2 separate regions of the Homo sapiens genome follow, and region 2 is linked to region 1. The links are contacts of gene promoters, found by promoter capture Hi-C in blood cells and fetal thymus (Javierre and others, 2016). All regions are on one chromosome and are shown on one strand. Each heading gives the region's core, a stretch centred on a gene start or on the middle of the fragment in contact. The rest is flanking DNA. Distances are from core to core; before and after follow the strand shown. Region 1 has its middle 37 kb from the start of TMPRSS11F. Region 2 holds the start of GNRHR (gonadotropin releasing hormone receptor).

The links. Contacts are between HindIII fragments. The CHiCAGO score rates a contact against its expected background, and 5 or more counts as called.
Region 2: a contact is called between the fragment with the promoter of GNRHR here and a fragment that was not itself captured in region 1, in 7 of 17 cell types (M0 macrophages, neutrophils, erythroblasts and 4 more). The highest score is 8.9, in M0 macrophages.

The regions. Positions count from the first base shown.
Region 1 is chr4:68,163,376-68,170,651 of GRCh38, forward strand. No RefSeq gene overlaps it. Among named protein-coding and RNA genes, the nearest start is that of TMPRSS11F, 37 kb to the left of the region's middle. The HindIII fragment of the contact is 2,752 bases long and covers 2,548-5,299 here.
Region 2 is chr4:67,751,631-67,758,906 of GRCh38, forward strand. It overlaps GNRHR (gonadotropin releasing hormone receptor), which reads right to left and starts at 2,758. Exons shown (of 3, transcript NM_000406.3): 1 at 2,184-2,758. The coding sequence starts at 2,705. The HindIII fragment of the contact is 5,914 bases long and covers 2,341-7,276 here.

The DNA.
Region 1 (7,276 bases), core at 2,674-5,173:
AAGAAGCTACCAATAGAGTAAACAGACAACCCACAGAATAGGGTAAAATATTTGCCATCTATGCATCTGAAAAAGGTCTTATATCCAGAATCATAAGGAACTTAAATTTACAAGCAACACCATTAAAAAGTGGGCAAAGTACATGAACACTTTTCAAAAGACATACACGTGACCAGCAGGCATATGAAAAAACACTCAACATCACTAATCATTAGAGAAATGCAAATCAAAACCACAATGGGATAACAGCTCATATCAATCAGAATGGCTTTCTTTAAAGTCAAAAAATAACAATGTTGGCAAGGTTGCAGAAAAAGGAAACATTTATACACTGCTAGTGGGAATGTAAGTTAGTTCAGTCATTGTGGAAAGCAGTTTTGTGATTTTTCAAAGAACTTAAAATTACCATTCAACCCCACAATCCCAGTATTGGGTATATACCCCAAAGAATATGAATCCTTCTACCAGAAAGAAACATTTACTTGCATGTTCATCACAGCACTATTCACAATAGCAAAGACATGAATTCAGTGTAGATGCCCATCAATGGTAGACTGGATACAGAAAATGTGGTACATATACACCATGGAATACTATACAGCTGTAAAAAAGAACTAGATCATGTCTTTTGCAGCAACATGGATGCAGCTGGAGGCCATTATCCTAAGCAAACTAACGCAGGTACAGAAAACCAAATACCATATGTTCTCACTTGTAAATGGGAGCTAAATATTGAGTACACATGGACACAAAGAAAGGAACAACAGACACTGGGGCCTACTTGAGGGTGCAGGGTGGGAGGAAGGGGAGGATCAAAAAAACTACCTATCAGGTAGTATGCTTATCATCTAGGTTAGGAAATAATCTGTACACCAAACCCCCACGACATGCACTTTACTTATATAAGAAACTTGCTGCCCAGTGCAGTGGCTCATACCTGTAATCCCAGCACTTTGGAAGGCCAAGGCGGATGGATCACAAGGTCAGGAGATCAAGACCATCCTGGCCAACATGGTGAAACCCTGTCTCTACTAAAAACACAAAAATTAGCCGGGCATGGTGGTGTGCACCTGTAGTCCCAGCTACTCAGGAGGCTGAGGCAGGGGGAATAGCTTAAATCTGGAAGGCAGAGGTTGCAGTGAGCCGAGATCATGCCATTGCACTCCAGCCTGGGTGACAGAGCGAGACTTCATCTCAAAAAAAAAAAAAAAAAAAGGAAAGAAACTTGCACGTGTATCCCTGAAACTAAAAGTTAAACAGTAAAATAAAATAATGGAATTGGAACACACACAACAACAACAAAATAAAATACATTTTGAAAAAGTAATCAAGCTTTCTGTAATCAATGTATTAGACTTGAAATCATCATACTCATCAGTACAAACTCAGCTTAATAGAGACACAGATTGTTACCATGGTCAAATCTGGAACAATTTGAACAATAAAATTAGTAAACTAGTATTGGATTTTAATCTAAAGTATAAAATAAGTATCCAAGAGTCCACAGTGGTATAAGTATATGATTAAATAAATAAATGAGAGAGAAGAGACAAATATCCCATGCAGAAAAATTCCAAATAATGTATGTAGATATTCCACCCTCAATGAGGTGGGTCATAACTCCCCACTCCTTACGTGTCATCTCTAAACAGTGATTTCCTTCCAAACAGTACAAATGGAAAGTGGGGAAATGTAACTTTACGGTGGAGAATCCTGAAAAACACTACCTAAGCTAGATGATCAAAGTAATATCAACAGAGATAAGTTATACTGACAGTATAAACCACCGACACAATATGATTAAAATGGCACTTTACCTCTGTGATCTTCTCCCAAAAACCCGTAACTCCAAATCTAATTATGGGACTAACATCAGAGAAATCCTAATTGAGGAGCGTTCTATAAAATACTTGACAAGTACTTCTCAAAACCGTTAAGATCATCAAAAGCAAAGAAAATCTGAGAAACTATTACAGCTAAAAGGATCCTAAGGAGACATGATGGCTAAATGTAATGTAGTATCCAAAATGGGATCCTGGCACAGAAAGGGGCCATTGGATAAAAACTAAGGAAATAGGAATTAAGTATGGGCTTTCATAATAATAATGTACCAATATCACTTCATTAATTGTAACAAATGTACCACACTTTAGATAGCAGCAACAGGGGAAACTGTGAAATATATAGAAACTTTCCCTACCATCTTAACTTTTTTGTAAATCTAAAACTGTTTTAAAATGAATAGTTCATCTTTATAAAAAGTAAAAAACAAACTGATCTTACCAAGAGCAACTGGCATTAATTTCAATTATATCAACTGAAGTTTAAAAAGTATAAATTTTGATAAACTAACAAATGAGTTTCCAGAAAAGCAGGAAAAAAATTTATGAGAAATCAAGATTACACATTATAAAGTATTATTTCTTTTATGACCTAAAATTAGAACACCAAAAATTGTATTTTTGTAATTTATTAGTTTATATTGTTACCCACATACCATTTTCATCCCTATTATGTTTTATAATATAATAGCTTTTTAAAATTAAAAGCTTAAGGAGCATTGCATTTTCATTTTTCACTACTACCTGAAAATTATTATTTAGCCCCCAGTCAGTTGCAGAGATGTATGCCTATAGTCCCAGCTTCTTGGGAGGCTGAGATGATACGATTCTTGAGCCCAGGAGTTGAAGTCTTGCCTGGGCAACATAAAAAGAACCTGTCCCTTTAATATAATAATAAATAGATAAATAAGATCATCAATGTTATACTTACCTCACCACCACATAGGAAACTGCTTAATAAATGCTACGTATTATTAGTGAGCTACAGTTAGTACCCAGTTACTGATTCTCAAGAATTATTCTTCATAGAATGTATTTAACACCTCAGTTCAATTTTCAACTACTTCATACAAAATCACTTTATACCTAACTGGTGTTACATAGCTGATGGAAGAGATCTGCATACATATTTGCATGTGAAATTAAATATCTGAGAAAAATGAGTGAAGAAGTAGGATTTAAGAGTAGTTTCTGATTTAAATTTGCTGATTTCCAATTATTGCACTGGACACTTTTTAATACATTTCCTTAATTTTTACAAATGCTGTGAAGTACGCACTTTATTCCCATTAAACTGGAGAGCAAACTGAGATCAGGGAGCTTGAATAAACTTCTCAGGTCACAGGATCACAACATGAGTAACAGGATTGAGATTGAAACCCAGTTTTTATTACTTCCAAGTAGTTTTCATTACCTCACAGTGCCTCTTATTTATCATAGTGCAGGCAGGTACTATTTACTAGCTTTGTCAAAATTTCCTTATTTTGGTGAATACTGTAAAATGGTTGGATATCTCTAAAGAACTTATTTTAAACAGGTCAGAATTAAGAATGACTCATTCTCATGCATCTTTTACAAGCTCAATTTCCAGAAATAGTTCTTCTTTACAACTACAATCTGTTATCATGATCTCACTCTTTCAGCTCTGTTGGGTTACTGGCTAAACCTAGTTTTGGAATTACTTGGATTCTAGATTGTAGTTTTCTCTAGAATCCTCCTGATGATACTTCAGAAGACTGTCCGGCATCTACCACATTAGGGTATACCATAGAAAAGGGCTTTCAGACTTTGTTGGAGCAAAGTTTGTTGATGCTTTCATGTTGGGGTCATGTTTTCATGGTACTACACCTGCTTGGCCAGCCAGTTCCATTGAGGTGCCTGTTCCCAGTCCCTCCGGGGGTTCTCAAACAAAATCTGACAGCATATTCCCTCACTCTTTACTCTGCATTTCTTGCTTCCCACGTGGAGTTTTTCCATCACCTCTGAGACACTGTGGAGGTGCACTGATTTGCCCAGTTGTGTTTGTGAGGTTGCAAATTATACATGGACAGTGGCAAGTGTCACTGACTTGCTTCCACTCACTAGCTTACTCCATGCAGTGTGGCTGCCACTGTGGATGTTGTCACTGCTGTTTTGTGATCTAGCCTCCTCATAGCTGCTAGAGGGCCAGGTGGTACAACCTAAAACTGTGTCACAGTCGATGTGTCATGGGAGGAATTTTTTTCCAATGGCAGATACAAGAAGGTGAATTCTTCTCCCTTCCTCTCCCTAGACAAATCATTCAGAAACACAGTGGCTCATATAGACTCTCCAAAGATATCCCACTAGCTTGATATAAAACTCTAGCCCAATTGGTAACGTACCCCTTACATTTGCTTTCCATCCTCATCCCTTCTTTCTCTATTGATCCCTTTCCCTCAGTCCTTCTTCCCTAGAATTGCATATCCCTAGAATTGCCTTGGGCTCTATTTTCTAAAAAAATCCACACTAAAAACAGTTTGCCATCCTATGATCACTACCATTATTCAATAGCTAATCAAACCATTTAGGGGTTTATTTACAGTTATTTGATTGAGAGACGAAAGAGGAACAGAAAAGAGAACCTTATTTACTAGGCTCCAAGAAGGTAGAGGAGGTTGCCCCACTTGGAGAACTGTGCCAAATTTCCTGACTCCAACTGCTATACTTCGTAGGTAACAGATGGCATAGTGGGTGGAAGGGAGTTACACATGCAACTATTCAAATCTCTAGCACTGAAAATATCTTGATTGCAAGAGGTGACGCTTAGGAAATTTTAGAGACAGACATGTCAGAAATAATTCTGATGTAGCAATAGCAGAATATATAAGCAGGTTATCCTATAGGTAATTGTTTGCTTGCACACTATTGAGATTTATATTGATGCATAGTATGCATTCTTCACCAAATATCCAGAGCAAACGTGCTAATGTATTGTGTTTAAAGAACTGCAGCCAGATTTGGGGAAAGAAAAGAACACAACAGGACCACTATTTCTACTCTCTCAAGGGAAGAGAATGAAGTGAAAACAACTCTATCTAATTTGGGGGCCATGAACATTTGCCCTACAATCAGTGGCAATCTAACCGATTTGGTTCTGCAGATGTCGGAATAAAGGGCAAGGAACCCAATAAACATGATAATGTAACATTGACAGTAAAAATAGAGATGTCCAGACAGAACACTGTACAGTGAATACTTTAGATCACACTAATGTCTTATCGAATGTTAAATATATCTTTTGTTGACCTAATTAACATATGAAACAGATTTTGTTTCGATTACACATTAAGTAATCTCATGACGTGTTCTTTTGTGGAGGTTGAGGTTGTATGAGTTCAACATGTGTTGGTAGTGGATGAGTGGGCATCCAAGTGGCAACATGCACTACCTAATTTAAAATAATACATTAGAGGTTTAACTTGATTGGGGTTACGGGAAGCTTTGACTAATGTCTTACCATTTGAGCAACGAAATGAATATTTATGTCTTGTACTTGTATCTCAAAAGCAATGTTCTTTAACGTGTTTAAGTTGCAGCCCTTTAGAAAAAAGATTTTCATTTCCCTCTTAGGTATCTCATAGTAATAGGGCCAATTTCTATGGCAACTCATTTATTAATAAGAAGTTATTATTTCGGGCAAAGACTCAATGATGACTATAAAGAAGGAGAAAAGAGTCTTCTGATGCTACTTTAATTTGAATTTTTACTGAGAAGATGAAAAGGGCTGCATATAACATTAATTAGTTGGCCTTGTAGTACGCATTTGAAACTACTATTTTGTGAATCTGTTTATTTATTTAGCAAATATTTACTGAAGGTGCACCATGTGTAGGCAGTGTTCTAGATGCTGGAGTGACGGTGGTGATATAACAAAGTCCTTGCCTTCATGGTCATTTATATTCAAAGAGAAGAGATAGGTAGTAAACAAGTAGATACATAATACAATGCCAGGTTGCGTTTGGTGCTGTGAAGGAAACTGAAACAGAATAAGGGACTGGAGAATGAAAAAGACCTGGAGACTATATTAGATAGTAAAGCCAGAGAAAACCTCTCTGAAGATATAAGATTCAAGTAGAGACCTGAAGAAGATAAAAATTGATAAAAATCAAAATATCGCAGGGCGTGGTGGCACACGTCTGTAATCCCAGCACTTTGGGAGGCTGAGGCAGGCAGATCCCTTGAGCCGAGGAGTTTGAGACCAGCCTGCTCAACACAGGGAGGCCTCATGTCTACAAAAAAAAACAAAAATTAGCCAGGCATGGTGGTGCACACCTGTGGTCCCAACTACTTGGGAGACTGAGGTGAGAGGATCAATTGAGCCCGGGAAGCAGAACTTGCAGTGAGCTGAGATTGTGGCACTGAACTCCAGCCTGGGAGACAATGTGAGACTCTATTTAAAAGAAAAAAAAATCAAAATATCTATTCATTCACTGGCTGTTTTAAATGAATTTTTATTTTAAGAATTGCAACATCTATTCATATTTGGAAGTGGTATGTAATATACATTCAGTTTAAGGCATGGGTTGGTGTACTAATGGATTTGAGGATTTCTTGTGATAACTCCGCAATCCACTACTGCCCCTAGGGAACTACTCCTTTAGATCCATCCCATGTGCCCAACCTATCCCTATTCTCTTTAATGGGCATTTATTTCCTAGTGCTCCCACTTGTGCCATGCTCAGCCCTTTGACCATTAATCCCCTCATCTAAATGCCAGCCTTTTCTCAACTGTATACCAATTCAAATTATCTCTTCCCAAAAAATTATCTCTTCTGTAATAAGAGATCACTACTTTTTAAAAAATTTACTATTTGCTAGGCACTATGCAAAATGCTTTATATTTATTGTATTCATGTACAAATGTAGGTAGTAACTACTATGATTCCTACTTTGCAGACAAGGAAATGGAAACTTGGGGAGTTTAAGAAACTTGTTTAAGTTCATATAGCTTGGCAATGTCAGGGAATGCCTACACTTTTTCTTTACTCTTTGATGGAAAATTGATTTAAAAAAATTATTTTATCAAAGTGTATTATCTGTACCTACGAATCAACCTCTCTTCATCTCTCCCCTTCCCTTTACCCTTCCCAGACCCTGGTAAACACCAATTTACTCTATCTTCATGAGATCTACTTTTTCAGTTCCCACACATGAGTGAGAGAACAAGTGATACTTGTCTTTCTATGTTTGTGATGCTCACACTTTAAATTATTATTCTAGTGTGCCTTCCTAGACCATTCTAGGACAACTATTCTATCTTGGTATGATCTCACCCTAGAATGTTTATCATCAGAATGCTGATAAAGAGAAAACCACATTAGGAAATTTCACTAAAAATTATACAAATAAGAGCTATACAAATGCTGGTTCATTTTAATAATTTTTATTAGCCAAAATCAAAGGAACATCCTCAA
Region 2 (7,276 bases), core at 1,508-4,007, 410 kb before region 1:
AATACTTAGATGAAAATAATTGGATTGATAAAGCAATATTTTATTTATAGCTTCTAGGAGACTTCTTCTAAGAAGAATCAAATCGTGAGTTTGCCCTTCAGTTATTATTGCAGATAGGATTATTTCTACTTTGGTTTGGATTTTAATCTACATCAGCACCTCAAATTACCAACTACTTTACACATAGTTGTAATTACACAGATCTTATATTGCCAACAGTCATGTCCTAAAGCAAATGATTTTACTTCTCATAGCCTGCCTTCCCTCTCCCTTCTACAAACAAACAGGCAGACAAACAAACACTCCCCTTCCCACCGGATCATTTCAATGGTTTTACTATTTTAATTCCTAGGCTAAAAAAATTGGAACTTTATTTCCCCCTGCTCTATTATTAACTCTCTCAATCCAATTTGTTGTCAGGTTTTGTATTTTATTTGAAATGTCTCTTTTACTATCTATTCTCTTTGATACCACCCTAGCCCCCTGATCACCTCATTGCCAGATGATTTTTAAAAAAGTCTTTGTTTTATTCCACTCCATTTGGGCCATTTGGGCCTACATAAATTTTCCCAAAGCCTTTTTTTTTTCTTTTTTGAGACAGGTTCTCATTCTGTCACCGAGATTGCAGTGCAGTTGCAGTGATGCATCATGGCTCTCTGCAACCTCTGCCTCCCAGGCTCAAGCGATTCTCCCACCTCAGCCTCCCAAGTAGCTGGGACCACAGGTGCGGGTCATCATGACCAGCATTTAAGCAATTTTTTTTTTAATAATTTGTTGATATGGGGCCTCCCTATATTGCCCAGTCTGGTCTCGAACTCCTGGGCTCAAGTGATCCTCCCACCACAACCTCCCTCCCAACCTCCCAGGTAACTTGGACCATAGGTGCAAAAGTGGAAAGAAAGAATGTGGAAAATTTTAAGAGCATAAGCCTTAGCTAAATCACCTCATTTCAGGTGATATATTTGCTAAACTTATTCTTATGTATTGCATCACTGTGAAATAAATCATATATTTTTCTTCAGAAAATGAAAACATTTTAGTTTTTCCCATTATTCTTATTATGAAACACACACATATTCAAAAGAAATATTAAAGTGAGAAATTGATGGGATAAAACAGTTATCCAGCTTTCTAGTGTCTTGTGCTATATAGTGAGTTCTGCATGGCAGTTTTTTTTTGTTGTTGTTGTTTTTTAACCATCTGGTCAGTAAAAAAAAGTCTAGATAAATTTCCATTTTCAGAGGCAAGTTTTGGAGGATCCTAGTTAATTCTGATTTATTTCTTGACACATCCTTGTATCCTGGGTTTATCATGTAGTACATTTAAATGCAAGAGAAAACTTGTTCATCTGCTATTAACATTCTTTGTTATTTTCAAGAATTTGTCCTTTTCTTCGGGGATCTGATTGTTAAAATGGCAGGTTCAGCAGGTCAGTTAACTAGGCTGCTTCTGGTGAAGGCAACCTGGAAAGATAATTGCCCTCTGTGGGGAGGGCCTGTGCCTACTCTGTCAGTCATATGGCTTTCTCAATAAGCTGCCTCCAGCAAAACTCAAGCTAACTTTAGGGAAATATTTGGATTTCCAAACATCCAAGATGTCTTACTTTTCTTCTATATTCAGTCCCACTTAGCTGCAAACTGCAGAGCAACATACTAACAAAGAATAATTCTCTCTAAGCTGCAGTGACAGAATTCTTAAAATTTCCACTGAAGAAACCCTAAATAAGAAACATTATAAATATTTTCTACCTAGGCAAATTTCATAATTCCTAAAAATTATCTCAACTAAACATTAAAGCCATGTCAACCAAAACAAAAAGAAAAACAGATAAAAGAATAGGATGGAGATAAGGTCAAGTTTGAGAATCGCATTTTTTTTGGGGAAGCATTTGCTACATAATAGAGATTATGTGAGCTACTTTATTTATTTATTCATCACAAAAGCAGTATTAAGTAAGCATTAACCCCCATGTTACATTTTATCGGTAAAGGAACTGAAACCAGAGAGGTTAAGAAGTTTGCCCAAGGTAACAGAACAGAGCCAGAATTAAACTTCACTCTCTGACTTCCAGAACCCAAGCTCTTAAAGGTAATACAGTACTTCCTTTGATAAGACCTTATATCAAATTTAGATAGGAAATCTATGATCACCATATCCAAATAAGTTTGTGTATAATGGCTTACCTGTGGTCCTGCAAAGACACTACTGAGGATCCAGGCCAGGCCAACCATGGACTGTCCGACTTTGCTGTTGCTTTTCAAAGCTAGGGGCCTCGTGATAGCCAGGGAGCGGTCCAGGCTGATCACCACCATCATGAAGGCTGGGGCATACATGGAGAAAAGCTTTAGATAACTGAGAACTTTGCAGAGTAACTCTCCAGCATACCATTGGACTGTAATGTTCCACATCCCATCCAGTGGCATGACAATCAGAGTCTCCAACAGGTTGGCTAAGGTCAGATGTTTTAAGAGCAGCTTCATTCTTGAGAGCTTTTTCCCTTTCTCTTTCTTCTGTGTCCACTTCTGAAGTTTCAACAAGAAAGAAGCATTAAAGGTCGCAGAGAGCAGAAAAAGGAAGAAAGTAACCGTCACTCGGATCTTTCCAGACAAGGTCAGAGTGGGGAGGTTGCCCTGCATCAGTGGGATGCTGTTGTTGATGGCTGAACAGTGATTTTGATTCTGTTCAGGAGAGGCACTGTTTGCCATATTTTCCCAGGACAGAGCTTCAAGCCTTGTGTCTCTGGTGCATCTGATATTTTATTGTAACCGAATCTAAAGTCCTGTTTTATTTCTGCCTTCTTTAGATGGAAACGTCACAGGTTTAGACGTATGTCAAATTTTGTCCCTGAGATACTTAATGTGAAAGATCAAGGTTAACTTGTTTTGTGTATTGGTAATCCAACAGAGTGCTAAAACAGAGCAGGCCAAATGCATTCTGAGGGCCACATGTAACTGTAGCACCTCAGCAGATGGTCTGGCTTTCACAACACTCTTCCTAAGTGAAGAAGGATAGTCACAGCCTAATTTTGAATTTAAAAGTCAGTCATGATATTATGATTTAAATAACTTTAAAAAATTTTTCTAAAAACTATTTAGTGTTAGTGTTCTGTCCAACATACAGATGTATAATGATAATGAAGAAAAATGAAAACAACTAGATCCAATTAAAATCCATTGTCTTAAGGAATTAACACATTTCTCAAAAACATTTCTTTGTTTTCCTTTTCAAACACACTGTTGAGCACTCGAACACTGGACAAATATATTCACTTAAAATTATTCTACAACAAATTAAAACTTTAAATTAGAATCAATCCAACTGACTGCATTCAAATTTATTAATCAATCTTACTGATCCAATCCATGCTTAAGTTAGAGTAAAACGGTTAATCAGTTTTTAAATTATTGCCTTGGTTTTTATAATTATCTAAATATTGTAGTTGCTGTTATTACACATTAATGCATAAGGAAACTAGTTATTGAAGAGAATACTGTGTAACTGCTGTAAGTGCATTTATATGTGTTTATGTTAGTATAATATGAATATGTTCTTTTATAGGTTATCTGATCATTTCAAATTGGGACCACTTAGGAACTTTTTCTGTGTTGTTTCTTTAACTTTCATGGTGAGTGCTGGATAGTTATTCATCAATACTGGTAAGACTTACATTGGAATTTATTAAATCACCAGCTTGATTTGTCTAATGCCAACAAGTTTGCTTCTGCAGCAGCCAAAGCAGGTACAATGTTAAGGATAAAAGTGGCTATTTTGACTTAGATGGTGCATTCTTATTGGTTCATTTATTATACTTGTTTATTCTGTCTTAAATATTTATTTATTTAATAAATAGTTACTAAATATTTACTATATACATTATCTTAGCCTTTGCTGGTGATAAAAAGTGAACACAACATCATCCAGCCCCTTTAAGGAGCTTGTTACCACAGAAGGTTAGATAAATGTTTTAGATATATCTTATGTATCTCCTCAGCTTCTCTGTGTACTGGCTGTCTCCTGAATCTTGAGCAGCTTAGACCAGTCCTGTACCTGAGCTCCTTTTTGACTGTCACTATATGTCCAGAATTACCAGCTTCTCTCACTACTTCCAGACTTGAAATATTTATATCCTCTATTTATATAGAGTATCAAGGAAAGAGATTTTCTCACACCTGAGATTTGTGACCATAAAATTTTTACCTACGTCAAAACTAAGTTCTGACTCATCTAGGAGAATTACAAAAAAAAAATTGTGCCTACTATATTAGCTATAATAAGTTCCTTATAAGCAATCAGTCTTGAATAAGATAATTTATTTTTCTGAAGAACTCAAAAGGCTTTGCATATACATCATGTCAGTTAATCTGATCAGGGCCATATGCCTGAAATGAACAAAACAGGATAACCATTGGAAAGACATACAAATATGAAAAGTGTTTGTAAGTGGACCAGCAACCAAAAAACAAAGGAAAGAACATTTATGTAAAAATCCAATTTTAGTGAAGTATATTTTGCTCTTTGTCTTCTATATCTAGGGGAAAAAGATTAGAGCATATCATTCATTATTTGTCCCTTTTCCTCCCATTCCTTCCCTTCCCCTTCCTTCCCTTCCCTTCCCTTCCCCTTCCCTTCCCCTTCCCTTCCCCTTCCTTCCCTTTTCCTCCTTTCATTCCTCTCTTCCTCCCTCCCTCCCTCCCTTTCTTTGTTAATGATGGACTGATTCATTAGGGAAGAGGTTGCAACCGAGCTGAATGGGACTACAGCATATAGCGTAATAAGTGGCTGGGGAATGGGGTATGAGGACAGGGAGGGCATGCTTAGAAGCTGGAGCAGCACATGCAAACACGAAGACAATGTGAGAAAGTTCAAAGGGTATGTGAAAGCAAAAGTGTAAATAATTAGGCAGACTTCAGATCTGGAGAGCCTATATTCCAAGAAAAGGAGTTTAGGCTTTACCTATATAAAGAATGGAGTAATATACTCCTTTCTTTATATATACTTAGTGTATTGTGTAGCATACAGAGAATGCCTTGAAGGGATTTGGGAAATAGTGGGCAATCAAAATTCAGGGAGGTTAATCTATTTGGAAAACCCTTGCTATCAACACAACATGAAAGGTATAAAGCCCTCAAGTGCAGGGTGTGGCTATGAAAGTCGGTAGAGGAAGTAGAGGGCGAATGATGTTTGACGCATTTGAGGAGCTCTAAGTTGTTGAATCTAAGTTGTTGGATGAGTCAACTATATAGATTTTGAAGGTGCTGTCAATACTGATAATATTACTCATAGTTAATATTTATTGGGTACTTACTTTGTGTCGAGCACTTTTCTAAGCATGTTACACGTATTAACACATTTAGACCTTACAACAACCCTAGAAGTCAGTACTATTATTTTCGTCTTATGGTTGAGGAAGGTGAAGCAGAGACATTTACATACCTGATCCATATTAGAGTTTGTCATGGGGGAGCGGTGGCTATCTAGGCCCGAGGTGCAGGGACAAAAGGGTTTACCGTTGTAGGTAAAAGAAAGGCAAATTTGTTAGAGAAGGGAGGAAAATACGTTGCCAGGGAGACAATGGGCAGGATCAGCGGAAGGGAAGCTGACTGCAAAGAAACAAAGGCTTGCTGGAGATTTTATAGGATAGTGTTTATGCTGTATGCTGAAGAGGGCTTTGTGCAGTACTGATAATGCCAAGGTTGCAGTGAGCTAACTTGCAGGTGTCTGGTGATAGTTGGGCATAGGAAGATTGAGAGTTATTTGCACAGGAGGGCTATGTGTCCTTGTAGCTTATCTGCTTTTTCTTTTTGCTTTCCCCTGCTCCCACCAGCCTGACTCCTTTTCCCTAATTAGGACACCACAGAATTGTGTTACATCTCATGCAGTCTGCCTTCAGAGCTCCTGTCTTTAACTACTATGCAATGCTACTTTCTGGTAGCAGTTGGGGTGGAAAGGTCTATGAGCCAGGTGCCATAGTCCTTAGTGAATGAAGGGCCGTGTTAACAGGCCCTTTTAGTTGCAGGAAAGGGAGACTGTTTTAGATAATGGAGTTATCTTTCATGATACACAAGACCTAGAAAGCCAACAGGAGCCCAGGCAGCTCTAAGGATGAGCAACTCCTGCTGATTCATCACCTGAGTTGGTTTTCAATTATAGTATCTTTTTTTTCTTCATAGTGTTTTTCCCATCATCTTCTTGAACCTAACTAGCCAGTTTTTTTTTTTTTTTTTTTGAATTACAAGTCCAACTTCTGAAGGGAAAGAGTGATGATGGTTTAGAAGTGACCCAGGGGAGCAAGAAATATTTTTCATACCTCTTTACTCATGAGAATAAAATAATAGAGGAAGGCAGCTCTTTCAAATAAGAAGAATGTGTATGAAAATGTATTTGGGAAAAAATTTTGTTTCCTGTAAGGAGAGAAGATGGAAGTAGCACAATATCAGAAAAAAAAGAATTTTTTTTTTTTTAGTTTTTGAAAACATGACTTACTTTGTTGAGCAAAGAATGATAGTGTCTACGACAACTGTGAAATGAGTAAAAGGGGAACTTTTAAAATTTAAGTTTAAATGGAAGCATTTGAGGAAGGACTGTGGATGAAGTAGTATGAGGAAATATATACACAAAATTGTTGTGAAGGAGAGCAACAAATTCTAAAAGCCATACAAATTTTTCTAAGCCATGTTAAATTATGCATAGCATTTAACATGGCAGATTCACTTTCATTATTCCAAGAGTGCTCATTATTTGGAGAATCACACTGTAAAACATTGTTGCAATTTTTATTTCAGTATAGATGTGTTAGAGGTAAATGATGGGAAATTATGGTTAAATATGTACGATTTTGGAGATCAGATTAAGGAAATGCATATATAATATAAATCACCAACATATGAAATGAACAGAAAAGCAGAAGCATAATAAGTATGTTTACTTATCAAAATTTATGTTCACTAAATACTAAAAGTAGTAATCTTTTACTTTTAAGTATAATTAACAATATATAAAAAGATTTAAACCAGGAATATAAGAATTATATTTATTTCAACAATTCAATTAACCACTTATTAAGCATTATGTACTACACACTATACTTGTGGATACCAAAAATAAGGCTAGCCAAAGCTCGTATTTGATATTTCCAAACATATTTTATAATTATATTGTATTGTTATGAATTTTTTTTTTCAATCAAGAGTCTTGCTCTGTCGCCCAGGCTGGAGTGCAGTGGCACGATCTCGGCTCACTGCAACCTTCGCCTCCTGGGTTCAAGTGGTTCTTCGGC